Linked DNA regions of Homo sapiens: region 2 is linked to region 1. Evidence: promoter capture Hi-C in human tissues and cell types (Jung and others, 2019). All regions are on one chromosome and are shown on one strand. Each heading gives the region's core, a stretch centred on a gene start or on the middle of the fragment in contact. The rest is flanking DNA. Distances are from core to core; before and after follow the strand shown. Region 1 holds the start of NMNAT2 (nicotinamide nucleotide adenylyltransferase 2). Region 2 has its middle 69 kb from the start of APOBEC4.

Region 1 (4,372 bases), core at 1,138-3,637:
TGGTCCTCAGTTCTTATACTAAGTAAATAATCGTTACTGCCAAAAGTCTCCTTTCACCTTTCTATATCTAAACCCTTCCACTGCAACTCAGGTCTATTTCCACATAGTCTATCCTTGAAGCTCATGGAGAATTGGCAGGTCAGCATTCGCTTAACAAAAGCCTTTATTACTGTTAACAAAGAATCTTCAGCTACAAGACAGAATCTTTGGTTCTCAATCCAAATCTGTTTCTCTTGTAATCTAAAACAACTGGGATTTCCTAGCTTCAGGAAGAAAGGAGCAGTACCTGCTGGGTCATCAAAGATTCTTAGAGCCACAGAGTTTCATCCCCAGCCCAATGGCTCTTCCCTACTCCTCCTTTCTCTTGGTTCCAAAGGAAAACCCATCATTGCCTGGTCAAGGGAGAGGAGTAAAGCGCATCAACATAAAGTGCTAGAGGACATATGGACAGACAGGAAAAGAAGGAAAGGGATGAAGACACCAGCATCAAAGGAAAGTGAAAGTGGAGTGTTCTTAGGGCACTGATAGTCCTTAGAAGACTGATGACATGCTCTTGTCTACCCTGATGCTGGAACAGAAGTCCTTATTTAACAGGCAAGTTGGCATTGGTTCTTAATAAAAGACTTTTGAAAGCTGAAGGAATGGTGAAGAAGGGATGGCTATCTCTCAGCCTCCCTCCTTCTATCGTGTAGATATGCCTACCCGATTTGCCCTTTGCTCAAAGTAGTTCTATATTCTTTCCATGAGGTTTTTAACAAGCGAGCCCAGTTCAGCGCACCTTTTAAGTTTAAAGATGAATATTTTTAGCCTAAGCCACCTCGCCCTGTCTTTACCGCTGTGGTGTGGTTTTCACTAAACCTCCCTAGGAGGGCTCGCGCAGTCCTCAGGCTCCGGATAAACACGTGTGCCCGCATCCAGCTCCGGCGCGCCCTGCATTTCAGCACCGCCGCCTCTGGAGAGCGCCTTGCTGGCGGGCCAGGTCAGGGCCTCCCACACGCTCTCTCATCCATCCCAGCCCACTCGCTTTTCCCTACTCCTCGCTTCTCTCAGTTTCAAGAAAAAGCACCCCCAACTTCTAACTTCTCAATTCCTGCTTCTAAAGTGACCTCCGCGTCCCTCTTTCCGTGTCTAAACGCTCATGCCCCACGCCTTTGAGTCCTACGAGCAGCTGCGAAGCCGCGTGGCTTCCCACCGGTGGCGCGAGACCTCCAATAGGCATCTATCGATCACCTTTCCCCTACCGCTGCTGGACCCCGAACCAGCCAGCCGGATGCCCCCGCTCGCTCTCTCTGACTCCACGCCCCAAAGCTTCTAAGAAACAAACGCGCGATAAGTCCCCTCCCCCCAACACGCACACGCATATACTCACACACAGTCATTCGCACATTCGTACACACACTAGACGCCTCAAGCCTTCCGAGTGCCATCGCCACCCTGGGCAGAGCCTCAGCCAACTTGGGCCCCGATCCTTCGGCTCCGGCTCGCGCAGGGCCTCCCGCAGCCTCCGCCCGGCCCCCTCCCCGTCCTAGGCAGCGGGTCCCTGAGGCCGAACCTAGGCGGAAAAGGGCCCCCTCCCTATTCACTCAGCATCCACCTCGCGCGGGCAATACACGGCCCACAATTCCCAAACACTGGTCCCTGGGCCGCCCAGAATCACCAGCCAAATCCGAAATTAATCTTGAAGCCCCAGCCCCTGTCACCGGTGTGTCGGGCGCGAGTGTGTTTGCGAATCCCAGGCACATACATGATTTAACTCCTTCGAGCTTTCGGCCCATCCTAAACAAACAGCACGTTATCTCCAGCCCCTTCCTCCCCTACTCGGCGCCCCAACCTCTGCCCCCATCCCGGTCTTCGCCAGCCTGGTAGCCGAACCACCGCACCGCCACACTCCAGTTCTGGTATCTCGAACCCCTGCCCAGCCCCAAATGATACTCATCTCTAGTCCCCTCCCATCCCCCACCTTTGGCCCCCTGCGAGCCGGGTCTGGCCCCGGCAAGTGACGCCTCGGAAACGCAGTCTGCGTACCCTCCCCTGAGTCCAAAATGAAGGGGCCGACCTCCACCAGCTGGATGAGCCGGCCCACCCCTCCGAAGGGGCACACGCCTTCCCGTTCGATCGCCCTGGAAAACACAGGTGCCTGGGAAAGGAGAGGAGCGGAAGCGGCTTCCAGAGGTGGGCGGGAGGACTCACCAAACATCTGAATGTGCCCTTTGGTGATGGGATTGAAGCTGCCGCAGGCGAGCAAGATAACGTGGGTCTTGGTGGTCTCGGTCATGGTGCAGATGGGTCCTTCGCGGTGGTCTAGGGGTTGCCTCTCTTTTTGTGTCTCGTTGTGTCTGCAGAGGGAGAAAGGAAGGCGAGGCTCCGGCGGTGGATGCTGTGGACTCCAAGGAGCCGCTCCAGACGCAAACCGCGTCACTCTCCGCCTCCCCTTAACGCTTGCAGCTCCGGCTAGATCCGAGGCTGCTTTTGTATTGCTCTGCTCTCTTCTCTCCTCGGTCGCTCTCTTTTCGTTCTGGCTTCCTTCGCATCTCTCGCCTGGTGCCCCACCCCATCCTCTCTATCGCCCCCAGCCCACTTCACTCCATCACTGTCTTCCTTAGAGTTTATCCAGAAGGCAAGACGTGGTATCCAAGCTCAGAACCAAGAGCCCACAGCATGGTGTGAGCTCTTTCTGCCTCTTGCCTCATCTTGATTCAGTTTTCCTCCTCATTCTAACATTTTTCTGTCCCCCCTACTTTCTCTAACATCTCCAAGTTAAAAAATGTTTGATCTTAAGGTATTTTTTCTTTCTCTCTTCCTCAAAATTTTAAGTGAGAAATGACCATTGTTTATTTCAGTAGTATTCATTTCTGCTTTTCCTTTTTCCTTTATCTGATGATTCCAAACTATTGAGTTGAGTCCAAATCTTGATCTGCTGGCTGCAGAGAGATAGGGGTGATCTAAGCCCTTCCTCTGCAATACTGATCCTTTTCGTGGGCGAAGCAATGCTATCCGTTTGAGAGAACATGAAGGGGGCAGAGTTACTAAAACTGTATTAGAAAATTATGGGGATCCGCCGGGTGCGGTGGCTCATGCCTGTAATCTCAGCACTTTGGGAGGCCGAGGCGGGCGGATCACGAGGTCAGGAGTTCGAGACCAGCCTGGCCAGCACGGTGAAACCCTGTCTCTACTAAAAAGCAAATACAAAAACTAGCCGGGCATGGTGGCGAGTGCTTGTAATCCCAGCTACTCAGGAGGCTGAGGCAGGAGAATTGCTTGAACCTGGGAGGCAGAGGTTGCAGTGAGCGAAGATCGCACCACTGCACTCCAACCTGGGCGACAGCGAGAATCCATCTCGAAACAAAAAAAAAGAAAAAAGAAAATGATGGGGATCCTCCATAAGCTACCAAAGTTGAGACAAAGACTTACCATTTAACAAGTGTTTCTTGAGGGCTCATTATGTGTCAAGTATTGCTATAAACCCTGCTGGTGAAGCAAAGTCACTGTCTTCATTTTACTGGAGGAAGATAGACAATAAATATTAGATGGCAATTGTGCAATGCACAGTAAGTGAATGCAATTTACTCTCTGACAGAGCAGAGAGTGAGTGGAGAAGAGAGGACGAATCAAGTAGTCTGAGAAGGCCTCTCTGGGGAGGTGACATTTCAGTGAGACCTGAGCGACAGGAGTAGTTGCTAGCTCACGTATTCAGGGACAGGGAAGGGCTTACTGTATTCATAGAAATGAAAGGCCAGTGATGCTAGAAAGTATGGGCAAGGGGAAAAATGATAGAAGACTGAGCAGCAGGTGATCAGGGCCAGATCAAATGGGGCTTGTAGACTAGGGCAAGAGTTAGACACTTTTCTAAGTGGAATAATAACAAAAGGAAGCCACTGAAGCTTTTAAGCAGGGGAATAATATGTAATTTACATTTTTATAGGATCACTCTGGCTGCTGGGTGGAAAGGGAGGGCAAATGGGAAGACAAGGAAAGCATTTAGGAAAATCTGGTAGCCTAGGCAAGTGGAGTTGTCCTGAGACCAGGGTTTATAGAGACGGGAGCAACGAGAAGTAGATGGTCTCAGGATATGTTTTATAGATTTTGAAATTTGGCTTAAACAATGAGTAGACTGAAATTGAGAATGGTAGGGGAAGATAGATGTTCTATGCTTATACAACAGAAAGAACCAATAATTCTTTGCAGATGAATTGGATATAGAGGATAATTCTTTTTTTTTTTTTTTTTTTTTTTGAGACAGGATCTCACTCTGTCACCCAGGCTGGAATGCAGTGGCATGATCTCAGCTCACCACAGCCTCGATCTCCTGGACTCAAGCAATCCTCCCACTTCGGCCTTGCAAGTAGCTGGGACTACAGGTGTTTGCCACCAT
Region 2 (4,356 bases), core at 1,703-4,202, 310 kb after region 1:
TACTGACTTGTCAATATTACAAGTGTTTATTGACAGTCTTCCTTCTTTCAGCTGAAGGCCTTTCAAGTTAGGGACTGTGGCTCTTTTGCTTATTGTAGTAGTCCTGGAACCTAATGTGTGGAGAATGGATTAGATGGGGAGAGAGTAGGAGTTTACCTACTACCAGGGTAAGAAGTAGTTTTGGTGAGTTAAGGGTGACTTGGTTTAGGGAGTTGGAAGCTGCGGCATAGGAAAATGTCTGTTTGAGACTTTTAGGAGATATGTTTTGATGAAAGAAAAGGACTTGGTAATTGATTGGATGTGGGTACTGAGCAAGGGAAAGTGTCAAGGATGACTTGGAGAGAGCTCTGATTGGGTGGTGGTATAATTGAGTATAACAGAGAACACTGGACGAGGATCAAGTTTGCGAGGGAAATAAAAAACCCCTGAGATATCCTGGTGGAAATGTTGAGTTGGCAGTTGGATGTATGGAGCTGAAAGTGATGTCCTTTCACTCCCATTTCTCTAGACTTGACTTACTTCCTGATCCCAGATCTCTGTTTCCAACCAATTATTGAACATATTATCTGGAAAAACCACAGGCTGCTCATTCTCAGCATGACTAAAACTCACCTAATCATATTCCTCTGTGTAGCCTGGTTTCCTTCTTAAAATCTTAGTCATTCAGTGGGAATTTTATTTTCCTGTTTCCTCTGTCTCTACCTGACCTGCAAATCCATTCCACCCTTGTCATGTAAGTCTTTTTGATCTATACGTCTAACTCTTATTTTCATTTCCACTGCCATTGTTCCACTCCCACTGCCTGATGCTCATTTTACCCCTGCCTATTATAATAGCTTCCAAATTTGTCTCCCTGAAACTGTGATTTCTTAACTTCAAGCACACGTCCTTATTCACACTGGGTGCAATCTTTCAAAGGCTCAATAGTAAGTATGAGTTTTAACCCCACAGTATGTTAGAAAACGCCTTTCCCCTTCTGTCCTCTGCATACCTCACCAATCTTGTCTTCTTTGCTCAACCAATCTGTAATCAGATCTTTGGATAACCTGCTATTATACAAATGCGCACTCTAATTTAGGCACCCTTGTGCCTGTTGTTTCCTCTCTTCAGGATGAAGTTTCTTCACCTTTGGCCACCTTGGATACTGTTTTCTTAGCTTGGAATGTGTTTTCCTCACTTCATTCAAAGGACCAGCTTAAACATCACCTCCTCATAGAGACCTACACTGTGCCTGTGTCTTGGTTTAGCTCCCTTGCCTACTTTTACTTTAAGACACTTATCACAATGATGATGGTATTATTTATGTGATCATTTATGTAATGACTATCTCTGTCACTAGATTAAAGACCTCATAGGGTCAGGGTCTGTGACTATTTCATTCACCATTGTGATTCAGCATCTGTGGATTGCAGTTGCAAGCATGGATAGGGATGAAATTAGTCAAAGAGAAAATTTGGAGTGAGGAAAGAAAGTCAAGACAGAACACTAGGGAATACCAATATTTATGGAGCTGGACATGAAGGCAGATCCCACAGAGAAGTCTGTGGAGGAGCACTGGAGAAGGTAAGAGAACAGGGCAGAACAGTGTCATGGAAGTCAATGATGGAGAGGATTCCAAGAAGAAGGAGAGAACACTTAATAGTCTGGGACCAAAAAAAAAAAAAAAGATAAATGAACTTGAAGGCATAGCAATAGAACCTATCCAAAATGAAGCTTACACACAGAGATAAAAAAGACCAAGAAAAATAAGAGAGACCTGGAGGCAATAACATGTTGACTGACATATGTAAATGGGAGGCTTCAGAAGAGAAGAGAGTAAAAGAGAACAGAGATAATATTTAAAGAAATAATGACCAAACATCTTTCATATTTTATGAAAGGTATAAACTCACAGAGCTAAGAAACTCGGAACATGAAGCAAGATACCTACTAGGGAAACCACACCAAGAACTTCATTATCAAATTACAGCAAGTTACTAATTCTGACAAAAATCTTAAAATTAGAGAAAAAAGGGCACATTCCATACAGGGAACAACATAAAAATAATTACAACAGAGTTTTCGGAAACTATGCATGTCAGAAGACAATGGAGTAACATCTTTAAAATGCTGGAACAAATTTTGTCAATCTAAAATTCTAGACCCAGAGAAAACACCTTTCAAACATGAAACATGTCTTTCCTTAGACAAAGAAAAGTTGTGAGAGTTGGCCAGCACACCTGCAGTACAAGGCTTGTTAAAGGAAGTTCTTCAGGCAGAAGGAAAATGATACCTGATGATAATGTGGATCTACACAAAAGAATAAAGAGCTCTGAAAGTGATAAATATGTGGGTAAACTAATTTCATCATTTAAAAAATTTTAAAAAGGCAACAGTAGACTGCTTAAAACAACAAACAGCAGCAACAATATATTGGGGGAATTCATGACATGAGAAAGTAAAATACATGACAACAATAGCACAAAGGGCATTGGGGGGGAAATGGAAGCACACCAATGCAAAATTCTTGTATTTTATGTAAAATATTGTAATGTTTTTCCAAGGTAGACAAATAAGATAAAGATGCGTATTAAAAGCCCTAGATGAATCATTAAAAAATAAAGTATAGCCAATAAACCAATAGTATTGAGAAAATGGAATTTAAAAATACTCAGCTAGCAGGAGGCAGAGCAAGATGGCTGAATAGAAGCCTTCAACCAATTGTCCTCCTTGCAGGAACACCAAATTTAACAACTATCTACCCACATAAAAAAACACCTTCGTAAGGACTGAAAATCAGTTGAGTGACCACTGTACCTGGTTTTAACTTCATGTCACTGAAAGAGGCACTGAAGAGGATAGGAAAAACAGTCTTGATTTGTCAGTGCCATCCCTCTCTGGTTCCCTGGCAGTGGCCGCATAGCAAAGAGAATCTGTGCTCTTGCGGGAGGGAGAGTACAGTGACTGTGGGACCTTGCATTGGAACTCAGTGCTGCTCTGTCACAGTGGAAACAATACTGGGCAGAACTCAGCCAGTGCACGTGGAGGAAGCATTTAGACCAGCCCTAGCCAGCAGGGCTTTATCCATCCTAGCAGTGGGAACTTGAGTTCTGGCAAGCCTCCCCACCACAGGCTAAAGTGCTCTGGGGTTCTAAATAAACTTGAAAGGCAATCTAGGCCATAAGGACTGCAACTCCTAGGCAATCCTAGTGCTGGGCTCAGAGCCAGTGGATTTTGAGGGCATGCAACCTAGAGAGACACCAGCTGGAATGGCCAAGAGAGTGCTTATGCCACTCCTTCCCCAAACCCACGCAGTGCAGCTCACAGCTCCAAAAAAGACTCCTTCTTTCTGCTTGAAGAAAGGAGAGGGAAGAGTAAAGAGGACTTTGTCTTGCAACTTGGATACCAGCTCAGTCACAGTAGGATAGGGCATTAGGCAGAGTTATGAAGCCCCTATCCCAGGCCCTAGCTCCCAGATAACATTACTAGACACACCCTGGGCCAGAAGCAAACTCATTGCCTTGAAGGGAAGAGCCCAGTCCTGGCAAGATTCATCATTTGCTAGCAAAAGAGCTCTTGAACCCAAAATAATCAGCAGTGGTAGGTGGGTAGTACATGCCATGGGTCTTGGGTGAGACTCTGAGATGTGCTGGCTTCAGGTGTGACACAGCACATTCCCAGCTGTGGTGGCTATGAGGAGAGACTGTTTCTGCTTGAGAAAAGCAGAGGGAAGAGTAAAGGAGACTTCATCTTGCAGCTTAGGTACCAGCTCAGCCACAGCAGGGTAGAGCACTAAGTGGGCTCTTGGGGTCCCCAGTTCCAAGCCCTGGCTCTTGGACAGCATTTCTGGACGTCCCCTAGGCCAGAGGGGAGCCCACTTCCCTGACATATGAGTCCTAAGCCTGGCAACATTCACCACAAGCTGACTGGAGATCCCTTGGGCCTTAAGTGAACATCAGCAGTAGCCTGGCAGTACTCCTCACAGGCCTGTAGCAGTGGTCACCATGAAGAGAGACTCCTCTGCTTGTGGAAGGGGGAGGGAGGAGTATGAGGGACTTTATATTGTAGTTTGGGTGTCAGCACAGCAGCAGTAGAATAGAGCACCAGGGAGATTCCTAAGATTTCCAACTCTAGGCCCTGGCTCCTGGATGGTATCTCTGGACCTGCCTGGGGCCTGGGGGGAGCTTGCCATCCTTAAGCGAAGGACATGAGCATGGCTGTTTTCACCACCTGCTAATTATAGAACCTTAGGGCCTTGAGTGAACACAGGCAGTAGGCAGATAGTGGTTATAGCAGGCTTTGAGCGAGGCCCAGAGCTCTGCTGGCTTCAGGTCTAACCTAGCACAGTCCCAGTGGTAGTGGCCACAGGGGTGGTTG

The links. The method cuts DNA at HindIII sites, captures the fragments that hold promoters and counts their contacts. A contact is called where the count stands out against the background at its distance.
Region 2: a contact is called between a fragment that was not itself captured here and the fragment with the promoter of NMNAT2 in region 1, in 1 of the 25 tissues and cell types used here (spleen).

What each region holds. Positions count from the first base shown.
Region 1 is chr1:183,415,993-183,420,364 of GRCh38, forward strand. NMNAT2 (nicotinamide nucleotide adenylyltransferase 2) reads right to left here and starts at 2,388. Exons shown (of 11, transcript NM_015039.4): 1 at 2,191-2,388. The coding sequence starts at 2,275. The HindIII fragment of the contact is 5,834 bases long and covers 147-4,372 here.
Region 2 is chr1:183,720,578-183,724,933 of GRCh38, forward strand. It overlaps a transcript of RGL1 not described here. Among named protein-coding and RNA genes, the nearest start is that of APOBEC4, 69 kb to the left of the region's middle. RefSeq lists an enhancer at 3,240-3,740. The HindIII fragment of the contact is 4,359 bases long and covers 774-4,356 here.